3 separate regions of the Homo sapiens genome follow, and all the other regions are linked to region 1. Evidence: promoter capture Hi-C in 16 types of primary human blood cells and fetal thymus (Javierre and others, 2016). All regions are on one chromosome and are shown on one strand. The core of a region is centred on a gene start or on the middle of the fragment in contact, and the rest is flanking DNA. Distances in the headings are between cores, read along the strand shown. Region 1 holds the start of EXPH5 (exophilin 5). Region 2 overlaps CUL5 (cullin 5). Region 3 overlaps CUL5 (cullin 5).

Region 1 (4,421 bases), core at 542-3,041:
AACATGCTCCAGTGTTTTCTAGCTTCCAAGCTTTTGTTCAGTCTGGCCATTAAAGAGGTTGAGGGAATATGAGAAGATTCCTAGACTGTACTTCTGCTATTCAGCACGCTGATCCCCTTGCCTAGAATAGACTCACACATCTCCTCCCACCACCCCCTATTTCTTCCTCTTGAAATCTGACTCTTCATGCAGCAACCTAAATACCGTATCCTCTCTCCATCCACTCAGTTGGCACTAACTTTTCTGTGTGCTCATGGAATTTTCTTTATTCCTCTATTATGTTCTTTTTTACATAGTCATCTTTCTATTTGTGTATCTCTCCCACTGGATTACAAACTTTCTAAAGACAAGGACTGTGTTGTTCACAGTGTGTGATGCCTTCATGTAATAGGCACCAGGATACGTTGGTTGAAATCAGTTCACTGATATACTGGAAACAGTGTAAAATCCCACCAGTGACCATATTGAAAAGTCCCATGTGTATGCTGAATAAATGAACACACTAGAAAAACTGGACACCATATACAAGACATACTCCCAAAACAGGATCATTAATACAGACACTATTTATAAAGGAGTTCTGTATTGTGTACACCATGGGTGAACAAAATTGGTTCCTGGTTCACACAAATAACAGACACCCACAGAAAGTTATCTGAATGGCTAGCTGCCTAGGCATGTTTTAAATAATGATGATCAAATGGGGTAGCCCAGAGAACAAAACACAAGTGGCAATTTTTGATATCATGTTCTTGTACAGATACAAAATTTTAATTGGGTTTATGTGCCATGAAAAGAAATGATATATGTAGAAGTACATTTTATATGTTAGTAATCATCACCACCATCTTCAAAATGACCAAATTAAGGCTATGGGGCAGGAAAGTCAATCTGACAGAGTTATTTTTGGGTAGGAAGTGAAGCCAAGATAAAAACATGTTTTCTGTAAAAGCCTTGATAATTAAAAAAAAAGTATATATGTGAATATCTTTATAAGTTTCTATTATTCTTCATTGCATTGTGGAACAATTGACTTTCTAGGAAAGCTATTTCTGTGGCTTCATAGGATTACCATTTGCTTTCACCAGAGGATTAGGTATTTTTAAATGGCATGTGTATTACTTCTCTGAGTTTATTAAGATGATAATAAAATCTTACAGAAAACTTCTAACAGGTGTTTTCTACAGTCCTTTGCTTCTGGGCTGTCTTCTCCTAAAATACCATAAACGGTTTTGTTTGTTTGTTTGTTTGTTTCTAAAGTCTAAGAATGACTTTTGTGGGACAGTGGAGGTGGGGGTGTCTGTGGGATGAGAGGCTTGGCAAATAATTCGTTTCCAAGGATACACTAATTTCCGCCCTTCAGCCAGGTTCATCCACAGTCAGTAGTGTAATTGAGTTTAGTTCTTCCTGGTCTTTCAGATAAGTAACCCTTTTGCCAGTTACAAACCCTACTTGCAATTCTATTTTCTATGGGCTCTTAATTATTGAAAGGGAGGATTAGTCATGAATCTCCTTTTTCACTCCTTTACTAATCAAGCTCAAGTTCTGCGAGCAAACAGCAACAGCAAAAGCAAATACTTTGGCGCCAACACTTAGCCTTGCCTCACTTAAGAGGCAGAATTATGTAGGCTTGTTTGCTTAACAACTCAGATAGGGGGCGGGGAGGGTGACCGGAGGGGACGAGGGAGGGGACGAGGGACGGGACGAGACGAGGGAGGGGACGAGGGAGGGGACAAGGGAGGGCCCGCCCCCTTGGAACGGGATTGGTTCCCTCTCTCCCTTTAGCCGTTCACTTTGCATCTCGGTTGGACAGGTTGAGAGAAACATGTCATTAAGGTATTGTCAATATGAGCCCTTCAGGTGTGGGCGTTCCCTAGGTTTGTGGTTTTAGACTTTCAAAGGGGCGGACTTATTATTGGCTGTGGGATCAAGTTCGTGAAACTGGTCTTGTACAGGTTGAAAAATGCCTTCCTAACAGGAGGCGCCAAGGAGCTTAAGTGTAACTCACACACAGTAAAGAAAATGACGAAAGTTCCTCCGGCGTTTGATTTCAGTTTCTTAAATGACGAAGAGGCCAGGAAGATCCTTCAGGTGCTGGAAAGGAATGAGGAGTTACAGAGGGCCGAGAAGGACAGGATCAGGTACAGAGCAAATTCATTTCTTTTGTCCTGGGCCTGGGTCCCGCAGGGGCCGGGGATCCGCGGGGAAGGCGCTGAGCTCGCGCGGGGCACCTGCCCGGGGGTGCTCCGAGCGGCTGCTGCGGAGGCTGCGGGTCGGGAAGAGAAAACTGCGCGGAGTTGCTCCCTGAAGGACTTTGGGATGCTTAGTTGGTACCCTCTCCACCCACCACATACCAGACGGGCTCGGCTGCGGGTCTGGGGTCGGGCAGGGTGGGGGGGTCCGTGCGCTGCGGGGGCCGCGCAGTGACGCTGTGCTGTGCCGGGTGTCTGCTGGGCCATCGCGGGGCGTGGGCCGTTTCAGGCAATGAAATGCGGCGGGGGCGCGATCTGGAGAGGAATCCTGGCTGCTGCTCACTCCGCGGCCCGCGCGCACCCACGTGCTCGCACGGGTCCGACAGAGCTTCCACCCTCGCCTAACGCAGTTTTCCCTCGGCACCAGAGGCGAATCTCCCCACCCAATGCGGGCAGTCAGCGAAGCACGGGAGAGCCGGCACCTCACGGGAGGCGAAAGGTCCCCACCCCAAGGGTAGGAGCTCGAGGAATTTGTCAAATAGAGGCTTATGTGGGCGAATGGGACTTGGACACACGGGGTTGGCTGGAATGGGTGGGTCTTCTTGTGCGTGGTGCTGTGGGGAGCGAGTTTCTGAGAAATTTCATCCTTGACCTTACTATACACTGTTGTAGGTGAGGGATTAGTTACTAAAGAATGAAATCCAGAGACACAGATAATTACCCAGGATGTACATTAACCAGTTTTTCTGCTGGGGAAGTGTGGGATAAGTGCTGGAATGAATTAAAGGGACTCTCTCGCCAATATTGGAATATATCCATCTAAGTCCTTCTCTAGATAACTGTGGAAGGGAATTCAGGACATCACTCTCAGACCACACTGTGTGCCATTGATTGGAATTTAGCAAGTCATTTTGTTTTATGATCAACTGCTTGCTAATGCGAGTTCCAGGTTCCCAATTCTTTCTAGAATTGCCTGTCCCCCACCGCCGACAAAAGAAACCCTCCAGGGACCCTCTTCAAATTGGAAAATCTAGTTGGTCTTTGTAGAAAGAATTAGAATACACTAAGCCCAATGCCCTGACTTCACCCTTCTCCCCTAAACATGACTCTTTGAGGGATGAAGGAATATTTGAGGTTGGGGAATATGGATTTCATACCATCTGCCTTGAGAAAAAGTGGCTTTATCATTCCCCTCCCCTGAACAGTGTAGAAAGTGTGCCTTCAGGAGAACAGTATGCCACACCCACACACACCCACGTGCATAATGTACCTACACATATGCACATGCACCGCACAAGGCACACCCAACTTTCAGAAGAAGAATTTCAGAACTGCACGGAATTTCAGTGCATATTCCAAAGGCACTAAGAAACTGCGGTTATTCTCAGTGTGTGTTATTGGAAATGTTTCTTGTCTCTGAAGAGGATGGGGCTTCTTAAGTGATCCATTGTATATTTGGGGAAATTGAGGGGAGAGTTAGAAAATAACAAGGAGAGAAGCTTTCATTTAAGATGTTATCTTGACTTTTTATTTTTGACCTGATGCTTGCTTGCCTTATTGTGTTTTCTCTATTGCAACTCACGATGCCCACTGCAGTTGACTTTAGAGGGAACTGGATCTCCACATAGATCTACACAAAGCACGTGTATCTACACAAAGCCATTGGGCTGGGCATTAGAAGGAAGGTCAAAACACATTTTCTAATTTCATGGCACTCATATTCTAATGGAAGCATCAACAGAAAAAGCCATAATGCTAAGACAAAATCGATACTGTATTATACTAATTATTAAAAGTATTTAATTGCCCAAACAATTTGAAAAATATCACCATTAAAATACAAAAATCATTTAAGGAAAGTAGATGTGTGGACCAAATACCCAAGGCAATGATTTCTAGTACTGTCTTTTCCTTTGATTAATTCCCCACTTCCACTATCAAATACCCATGTCTGGCTTGCAGGCTCCATGGGATTGTTCTGCTTACCCACTTCAGGCTCACATGTATTAATTTCAGTATCAGATATTGGCATGCAGAAAGGGCCTGAGACAACATGGCAACTTGGCTGCCTCTTCTGCTCATTTTCTTGATATGTGTGATCATATTTTCCAAATCAAAAATCAGGACACATGACTTATAACTCAAGAGTATAATTTCATTCTGTTCTGGCTTGGCATATGTGAACAACAACAAAAAAGAGATGCTTCAACAGGCCTGTCTGAGAGACTC
Region 2 (4,421 bases), core at 1,225-3,724, 560 kb after region 1:
AAATCATAACTATGGGTACAACAGCTTTCACTAAATGCTATGAGCCTTTCTAATGAATTATCAAACCTGAGAGTGGTTTTGGGAATCCCCCAAGCTTACAGTTGGTGTCAGAAGTGAGAATAGTCTTATATGGAGACTGTATCATCTAATTTTGTAGTTGTCCTAAACTCACAAAAAGTATATTGGAAATCTATGTAAACTCTGAAAACTGAGGAGAAAAAAAAAACAGAAAAATACTCATCTCCTTTTATAATGCTAACAAAAAACCCTGACACTGAACTGCTGAGAAAAGCGTAAGAAATGGAAACTCCAGGCCAATCTTACCAGAGAACAAAGATGCAAAAATCTAAATAAATATTATCAAATCAAACAAGTGTCATATCAAAACAATCAGACCTCATAATCATACAGTTTATCTCTGGAATGTAAAAGTAGTGCAATATTAGGAAAAATAATGATCAATTACATTGCCAAAAACAGAGAGAGAGAGAGAGAGAGACCCCATATGTGTTAGTCATTAGTACTCCTTTTCAAGTTAAATGTGACCATGTGATTTGTTTTTTGTTTGTTTTTAAGACAGGGTCTTGCTCTGTCACCCAGGCTGGAGGGCAGTGGAGTGATCATAGCTAACTGTAGCCTTGATCCCCTGGGCTCAAGCAATTCTCCTGCCTGATCCTCCCAAGTAGCTGGGACTACACGTGCGCACCACCATGCCCAGCTAATTGTTGTATTTTTTTGTAGAGATGGGGTCTTGTTATATTTCCCAGGCTGGTCTTGAACTCCTGGGCTCAACTGATGCACTCACCTGAGTCTCCCAAAATGCTGAGGTTATAGCAGTAAGCCACTGAACTAGGACCATCTGGTTTGTTTTGGCCAGTAAATTTCAACAAAAGTCACGATTTTCTTTAACTTTTAAGTTTGGGGTACATGTGTAGGATGTGCAGGTTTGTTACAAAGGTAAACTTGTGTCATGGGGATTTGTTGTACAGATTATTTCATTATCCAGGATTAAGCAATTAGTTATTTTTCCTGATCCTCTCCCTCCTCCCACCCTTCACCCTCTGGTAGGCCCCAGTGTGTGTTGTTCCCCTTTATGTGTTCATGTGTTCTCATCATTTAGCTCCCACTTATAAGTGAGAACATGCAATATTTGGTTTTCTGTTCCTGCATTAGTTTGCTAAGGAAAATGGCCTCCAGCTCCATCCATGTCCCTGCAAAGGACATGATCTTGTTCTTTTTTATGGCTGCATAGTATTCCATGGTGTATATGTACCACATTTTCTTTATCCAGTCTATCATTGATGGGCATTGGGGGTGATTTCACGTCTTTGTTAGAGTGAACAGTGCTGTGATGAACATATGTGTGCATGTGTCTTTATACGACAGCACTGTAGTAACCAAAAAACATCATGGTACTGATATAAGAACATATACAAAGACCAATGGAACAGAATAGAGCCCAGAAATAAGACCACACACCTACAACTATCTGATCTTCAACAAACCTGACAAAAGCAAAAGAGAAAGGACTCCCTGTTCAATAAATGGTGCTGGGATAACTGGCTAGCCATATGCAGAAAAGTAAAACCAGACCCCTTTCTTATACCATATGCAAAAATTAACTCAAGATGGATTAAAGACTTAAATGTAAAACCTAACTTTCTAGTACACCAGCACCAAACACCCTATGAAACTCATGATTTTTTTTTTTTTTTTGAGACAGAGTCTCGTTCTGTTGCCCAGGCTGGAGTGCAGTGGCATAATCTTGGCTCACTATAGCCTCTACCTCCCAGGGTCAGGTGATTTTCATGCCTCAGCCTCCGAGTAGCTGAGATTAGACACGCACCACCACACCTGGCTAATTTTTGTATTTTCAGTAGAGACGGGGTTTCGCCATGTTGCCCAGGCTGGTCTCGAACTCCTGGATTCATATGATCCACCCTCCTCAGCCTTCCAAAGTGCTAGAATTACAGGCATGAGCCACCAGGCCCAGACTCATGATTATTTTTCAGTTATACAAATCTGTTGATATTGCTCAGGTTAAGAACCTGAGATGCATACAGTGATTGTATGGAATATGCAAACTCCCTGAAATTATAACACTGAAACAGTTTGTCAACATATGATCTGACAACAACCTACGTGAAAATCATCTGAGGTGGTGATTACACATACAGATTCCTAAAACCTACCTCAGGCCTACTGGATCGGAATCTCTTGAAGTTAGTCCACAATCTGCATGTTTATCAAATTCATGATAAAATTACATAAAAATAATGTTAGATGGTCTATGACCCAAACTAGGTTAAGAACCACAAATTAACATCATACTCTTATAAATCCTGCTTATATTCACGAACATAGTTCATCCTAAAAGTTAATATACTGTCTTGCTCCAGATGCCTGCTTCTATCACACTGTATTCTTTTTTCTTTTTGTTTTTGAGACAGAGTTTCACTCTTGTTGCCCAAGCTGGAGCGCGGTGGCACGATCTCAGCTCACCGCAACCTCCGCCTCCCGGGTTCAAGCGATTCTCCTGCCTCAGCTTCCCGAGTAACTGGGATTAAAGGCATGCGCCACCAAGCCTGGCTAATTTTGTATTTTTTGTAGAGACGGGGTTTCTCTGTGTTCATCAGGCTGGTCTCAAACTCCCGACCTCAGGTGATCTGCCCACGTCAGCCTCCCAAAGTGCTAGGATTACAGGCGTGAGCCACCGCACCCAGCCACTGTATTCTTATCATAAGGACCCATGGGAGATATCCACTAAAAACTTAGTACTGGGATTAGCTACGCTTCTCTCCTGAACAACTAGTTTCTTTTTACCTTATGGACTTAAATGAATCACGTAAGTAACTTCGCACTCCTCTTAGTGTTGGCTACTGGGAAATTCAGAGTCAGAATTGTGATGCTGCGGCATATACTTTGTACAATAACTTTATGCCTGGCCTCACATTACTTTTTCTACTTTTTATTATTTTCCTGTAACTCTCATTTTCTTCTTTTATTCTTCCCTATGAGGAAGAGGTGTGCAAATAAACAAATATGAAAGAACCATAGAAAGAACACTTTTCTTGACTGACATGGAAAAAAGAATACCTTCTTAACAAGAGGATACTTTCTAATTTCAATTAAGTCTATTTCCACAAGCACTTTTGCTAATTTATAAAATTAAATATAGTGTAAGTCCTGCAATTAAAAATAAAAGGTGCAGAGTACCAGAGTAGACAGGTACTGGAGATAAATTAAACACTGGTTAGGCTCTGAAATCTCCTAATAGACATTGTTAAGTACCAGGAAACATATTTTTGCTCTCCTTTTTGATGGAACACATAATAAACACGTTTCCCTAATACTCAATTTTAAAAGGAATTTAATAATTAATTGTTTTCTATTAAACTTTTATAATAGATTCCAAAAATGATGCTCAAGTAGTTCCTTGACCTATTCTCTATTAAACTGAAGAGCATATCATTAAATCATAACTAAGTGGCAGGACACCAAATCCACTATCTACAAAACAGAATGCCTTATTAATAAGAAAAAGAATCTTCAGACTATGAACCTTGATTTATGTACGTTTTCACTGACTGACTGAAGGCTGCCTCATCTCTATTAACTTGCTACAAAGCCTCTTGAATTCTTTCATTACTATTCAGAATAGCAAATAAGCTGGACTCAACAGTTGCTAGTAGGTCTACAATTCTCTCATTCACTGGCTCTTCAGAGAACTACAACATTTGCCATACTCCTGCCCCTCTATCCTTCACTCCTTACAGCACAACTAATCCCTTCACAGGCACTCTTCTTCTCACACAAATGGGCCGTGGGGAAGCCAACAGGGAGTTGACAATGGGGGAATACCTGGAAAAAGGTATTCTATCCTTCACTCCTTACAGCACAACTAATCCCTTCACAGGCACTCTTCTTCTCACACAAATGGGCCGTGGGGAAGCCAACAGGGAGTTGACAATGGGGGAATACCTGGAAAAAGGGTATTCTAGGCAGAGAAAGCAGCCAATGCAAAGAACATAAGATAGAAACATGCTTAATGTATTCAAGGTAGAGCAAAGTAAACAAAGTGGAGAGAGCAGATAAGGTCATAGAAGTAACTTAGCTTACTGGATCTTACTGAGCTGGATCTTGTAGGACCCTGAAGGCCATTATAAAGACTTTGGTTTCTACTATAAGTGAGATGAAGAGCCATTAAAAGATTCTGAGCAAGAAGTGTCATAATCTTTTTTATTTTTTATTTTTTTTGAGATGGAGTCTTACTCTACTGCCCAGGCTGGAGTACAATGGGGCGATCTCGGCTCACTGCAACCTCTGCCTCCTGGGTTCAAGCAATTCTCCTGCCCTAGCTGGGATTACAGGTGTGCACCACCACGCTCAGCTAATTTTTGTATTTTAGTAGAGACGGGGTT
Region 3 (4,421 bases), core at 736-3,235, 530 kb after region 1:
TAAACCTACACTGCTAACTAAATATAACTCAGTTAAGTGGCATCACACACATACACAAACACACACAAAATAAAAAAAAACTTAGAAACTACTTTTTTCTAGGGTAGTTAAAATGGCCTCATCCACAAGTTGGTATCTAAATGGGATCCTGTAAAGTAAGTACAAGCCCTAAAATAGGTTACGTATTCTAGGAATACCAGGAAGCTTAAAATGGTAGAGAAGAAACAGACAGTGGAAGAGAAGGCTAGAAAGATAGGCTGCAACCAGATTATGAATGAAAATCTATGATTTGGGGTTTTATTTCATAGGTAGGGAAGGAAGAACAAAGGAAGGTTTTTTTGTTTGTTTAAGAGACAGAGTCTTGCTCTGCTGCCCAAGCTGGAGTACAGTGGCATTACTACATAGCTACTATCATACCTCACTACAGCCTTGAACTCCTAGGCTCAAGTGATCCTCCTGCCTCAGCCTCTTGAGTAGCTAGGACTACAGGGATGTACTATCAAGTCTGGTTAATTTTTTAAACTTTTCTGTAGAGATGATGTCTTGCTATGTTCCCCAGGCTGGTCACAAACTCCTGGTCTCACATGATCCCCCTGTCAGTCTCCCAAAGTGTGGGATTACAGGTGTGAACCATCAGGCCTGGCCCCAAGGAAGTTTTAAACAGAGGATAAATGTAATGAGATTCTCCTCTCCTCAAGTCATTATTAAAGATCAGTATAATGGTAGTAAGGCAGGTGGTAAGGAGTGGGTGGTTGGGATATGGTAACGAGGCTGTTGAACTATTTCAGGTAAGATAGCAAGGGTCTAGTGCTCTAGGAGGCCATCAGGAAAATCTAAATGAGGCAGAAGATATCATGTCATCTCTGCTCCCTCGTGTCATGTAATTATTTACTTCTCTTTTGGGGATCAGATGAAATTAATAGGTTGTGAGGACTAAAGTTAAGTACAATAAGGCTGATATATTTCTTCTGAAAAACAAATCATCTATCTGTAAATTAAGGGAGGCAATTATGTGTCCCTTAAAAATTTTTTATTAAAAATTCCTTTGGAATTGACATAATGTTGGTAACTACTAAAGCTGAATTTAGGTAATGGGGATTCATTATACTGTTCTTCCTACATTGTAAAAATGCTTAAAATTTTCCGAATAAAGAATTTTCTGTGGTCCCTGCGAGTTGGGGGGCTGAGGTGGGAGGGTCAGTTAAGCTCAGGAGGTCAAGGCTGCAGTAAGCCTTGATCATGTCACTGCAGTGTAGTCTGGGCGACAGAGCAAGACTGTCACAAAACAAAACAAAACAAAACAAAAAAAAAGGTTTTTTCAGGCTCCTCTACAAGAATGATGCTGATGACTTTTAAATGCATATATCCATGTATATTTCTGTCCTAAGAAAATAATACACATGGCTGGGCGTGGTGGCTCATAGCCTATAATCCCAGCACTTTGGGAGGCTAAGGCGGGCGGATCACCTGAGGTCAGGAGTTCAAGACCAGCCTGACCAACACAGAGAAACCCCATCTCTACTAAAAATTAGCCGGGCATGGTGGGTGCCTGTAATCCCAGCTACTCGGGAGGCTGAGGCAGGAGAATTGCTTAAACCTGGGAGGCAGAGATTGCAGTGAGCCGAGATCGTGCCATTGCACTCCAGCCTGGGCAACAAGAGCAAAACTCCGTCTCAAAAAAGGAAAAAAAAAAGAAAAATAAAGAAAAGACTACACATATAAAATGGTTAAGAAACTCTTTCCTTGCAAGGTGGAAATCTCTGCCCCAACTGCTGAGTAATCTTATTCTATAACATCACTGGAATAGGCCCAACTAAACACTTCCACCTTAAGCAGTGAAACCAGATTGAGCATAGGTAAATCTAACAATATATAACTAATAGAGAACAAAGACAAAGTGGAATCCTAATAAACTCTAAGCTCTGTGTTTTCTATTTCATTGAAAACTTTCACTTGAACATTATCCTGTTCAGTGGTAGTTGAAATTTTGCAGATTCTAAAAATCCAGACCAGTGTGTTTCAGACTGTATGTTGTGAAATCAGTTTTAATGGCTGTGACCAGGTTTAAAAAAAAAAAAAATGTACATAGGACAGAACAAAAAATATCAGAGTGTATCACATATTGTAACAATGAATATTATTTCATAAGACTTTTGTTTCAGATATGTACAAATAAACAGTATATTCTAAGCCACAATATAAAATGTATTTCTTATGGTGGGTTACAACGAGGATTAAAAGGAGAGCTAAATTGACAACATAATTAAAGTAAACTGAGAAGAATTTGGTAAATGCTTAAATGAAAGGGATTAGGGAAATAAAAGGATGTTGAATCCATTTCTAGCTTGAGAGGTTAAACAAATTATTATAACAGGTATCCTTTAATGGGCACTTACTTTGTACCAGGCATTATGCTAAATGCTTTACATATAGATCTCATTTAACCCACATGGCAACCTCATGAGGCAGATACTTACTTTATGAGGACATAGACTGAGAGTAGCCACATAACTTCCAAATGTTGCACAGTTGGTTCATAAGGTCTTGAGTTATAATTTGAGGCCAGGTATGTATCTCCATAGCCTCCAACTTTTCTTACTACAGAAGTAGAGCATGTACATACTTAGTGATGGCTACATGCTCAGAACTGAGTTACGTGTTTTAAGGAATAGAGAAGTATAAACATGGTTCATGCCCTCAATGATCTTACAATCCAGTTGGAAACCCATAAACTATATACCTAAAAACATGTGTATGGTTCATATGTACAGATGTGTATGAAAAGAAGATCTTCACTAATAAGCAAATAACTGGAAAATGCATCATTACTATACTATAAACTTAAGGACAAAGATTGTGCTCTGTCCACAGCTATAAAGACTGTGCTGTGTCCTGGCACACAGCTGGTGCTTGATAAGAAATACAAGGCAGTCTATAATTTGCTCCTAAACCTAGTGGTAGAAACAATAGTTACCACGGGAATTCAAATAGGAAGAAACTGATGAAGGCTAGATGATCTGAGCTACTTTATTACAATTTTATTACAAGGTGAGTTAAAAGAATCCTTGCAAGATTTTGGGTAGGCAGAAGAAAACACTGCTAAAATGAATCCAAAAAAAAAAGTAACAGAGTGAGTTGTATGAATAAAAAAATATTTCTTATTGGAGTAGAGTGACTCTTGCTGGACAATATTAAGTTAGAAAAATAGGTTAGGGTCAAATTATGAAGGGTCTTAAAAATCAGGGGTATGAAATAATGATACTCTGGTTTTTTTTTTGAGACAGAGTCTCGCTCTGTCGCCCAGGCTGGAGTGCAGTGGCGTGATCTTGGCTCACTGCAAGCTCTGCCTCCTGGGTTCACACCATTTCTCCCGCCTCAGCCTCCTGAGTACTGGGACAGCAGGCATCCACCACCACGCCTGGCTAAGTTTGTTTTTGTATTTTTAGTAGAAACAGGGTTTCACCGTGTTAGCCAGGATGGTCTTGATCTCCTGACCTTGTGATCTGCCTGCCTCAGCCTCCCAAAGTGCTGGGATTAGAGGCGTGAGCCACCACGGCCAGCCAGTACTCTAGTTTTTGAATAGAAAAGTAAAACAATAAAAGTGATGTTTATGAAAGATTATCCTGAATTCACAAAAGAATAAATACAAATGGTCAGGAATAAGAATAAATATGCAGACCAGGCTGGACAACATAGTGAGACCCTGTTTCTAAAAAAAATAATAAAAAATAGAGGAGTGGAGCAAGATGGCCAAATAGAAGCTTCCACCGATCATTCCTCCTGCAGGAACACCAAATTTAACAACTATCTACACACAAAAAAACACCTTCATAAGAACCAAAAATCAGGTGGGCACTCATAGTACCTGGTTTTAACTTCATGTCACTGCAAGAGGCACTGAAGAGGGTAGGAAAGATAGTCTTGAATCGCCAATGTTACCCCTCCCTCATCCCCCAGCAGCAGCTGTATGGCATGGAGAATCTGTGTGCTTGGGAGAGGGAGAGAGCAGCAACTGTGAGATACTGCATTGAACTCACCACCACCCTTTCACAGCAGAAAGCAAAAGTAGGATGAACTCAGCTGACACATGCCCATGGAGGGAGCATTTAGACCAGCCCTAGACAGAGGGGAATCGCCCATTCCAGTGGTAAGGACTTGAGTTCTAGCAAGCCTCGCACTATAAGCTAAAGTACTCTGGGGCTCCAAATAAACTTGAAAGGCAGTCTAGGCCACAAGGACTGTAACTTCTAGGCAAGCAATAACAAATAATGAGATAGAAGCCATAATAAAATTTCTCCCAACAGGTGCAGTGGCTCATGCCTGTAATCCCAGCACTTTGCCAGGCAGAGGTGGGCAGATCATGAGGTCAGGAGAGAGACCATCCTGGCTAACATGGTGAAACCCCATCTCTACTAAAAATA

Evidence for each region. Contacts are between HindIII fragments. The CHiCAGO score rates a contact against its expected background, and 5 or more counts as called.
Region 2: a fragment that was not itself captured here is called in contact with the fragment with the promoter of EXPH5 in region 1 in 5 of 17 cell types (naive CD4 T cells, total CD4 T cells, non-activated CD4 T cells and 2 more); the score reaches 6.4 in naive CD4 T cells.
Region 3: a fragment that was not itself captured here is called in contact with the fragment with the promoter of EXPH5 in region 1 in 4 of 17 cell types (non-activated CD4 T cells, naive CD4 T cells, total CD4 T cells and 1 more); the score reaches 5.6 in non-activated CD4 T cells.

What each region holds. Positions count from the first base shown.
Region 1 is chr11:108,591,138-108,595,558 of GRCh38, reverse strand. EXPH5 (exophilin 5) reads left to right here and starts at 1,791. Exons shown (of 6, transcript NM_015065.3): 1 at 1,791-2,141. The coding sequence starts at 2,023. RefSeq lists silencers at 1,605-1,904, 1,925-1,974, 2,255-2,314. The HindIII fragment of the contact is 3,661 bases long and covers 33-3,693 here.
Region 2 is chr11:108,028,660-108,033,080 of GRCh38, reverse strand. All of the region lies in intron 1 of CUL5 (cullin 5), which reads right to left. Among named protein-coding and RNA genes, the nearest start is that of CUL5, 22 kb to the right of the region's middle. The HindIII fragment of the contact is 4,756 bases long and covers 97-4,421 here.
Region 3 is chr11:108,065,200-108,069,620 of GRCh38, reverse strand. All of the region lies in intron 7 of CUL5 (cullin 5), which reads right to left. Among named protein-coding and RNA genes, the nearest start is that of ACAT1, 54 kb to the left of the region's middle. The HindIII fragment of the contact is 3,557 bases long and covers 207-3,763 here.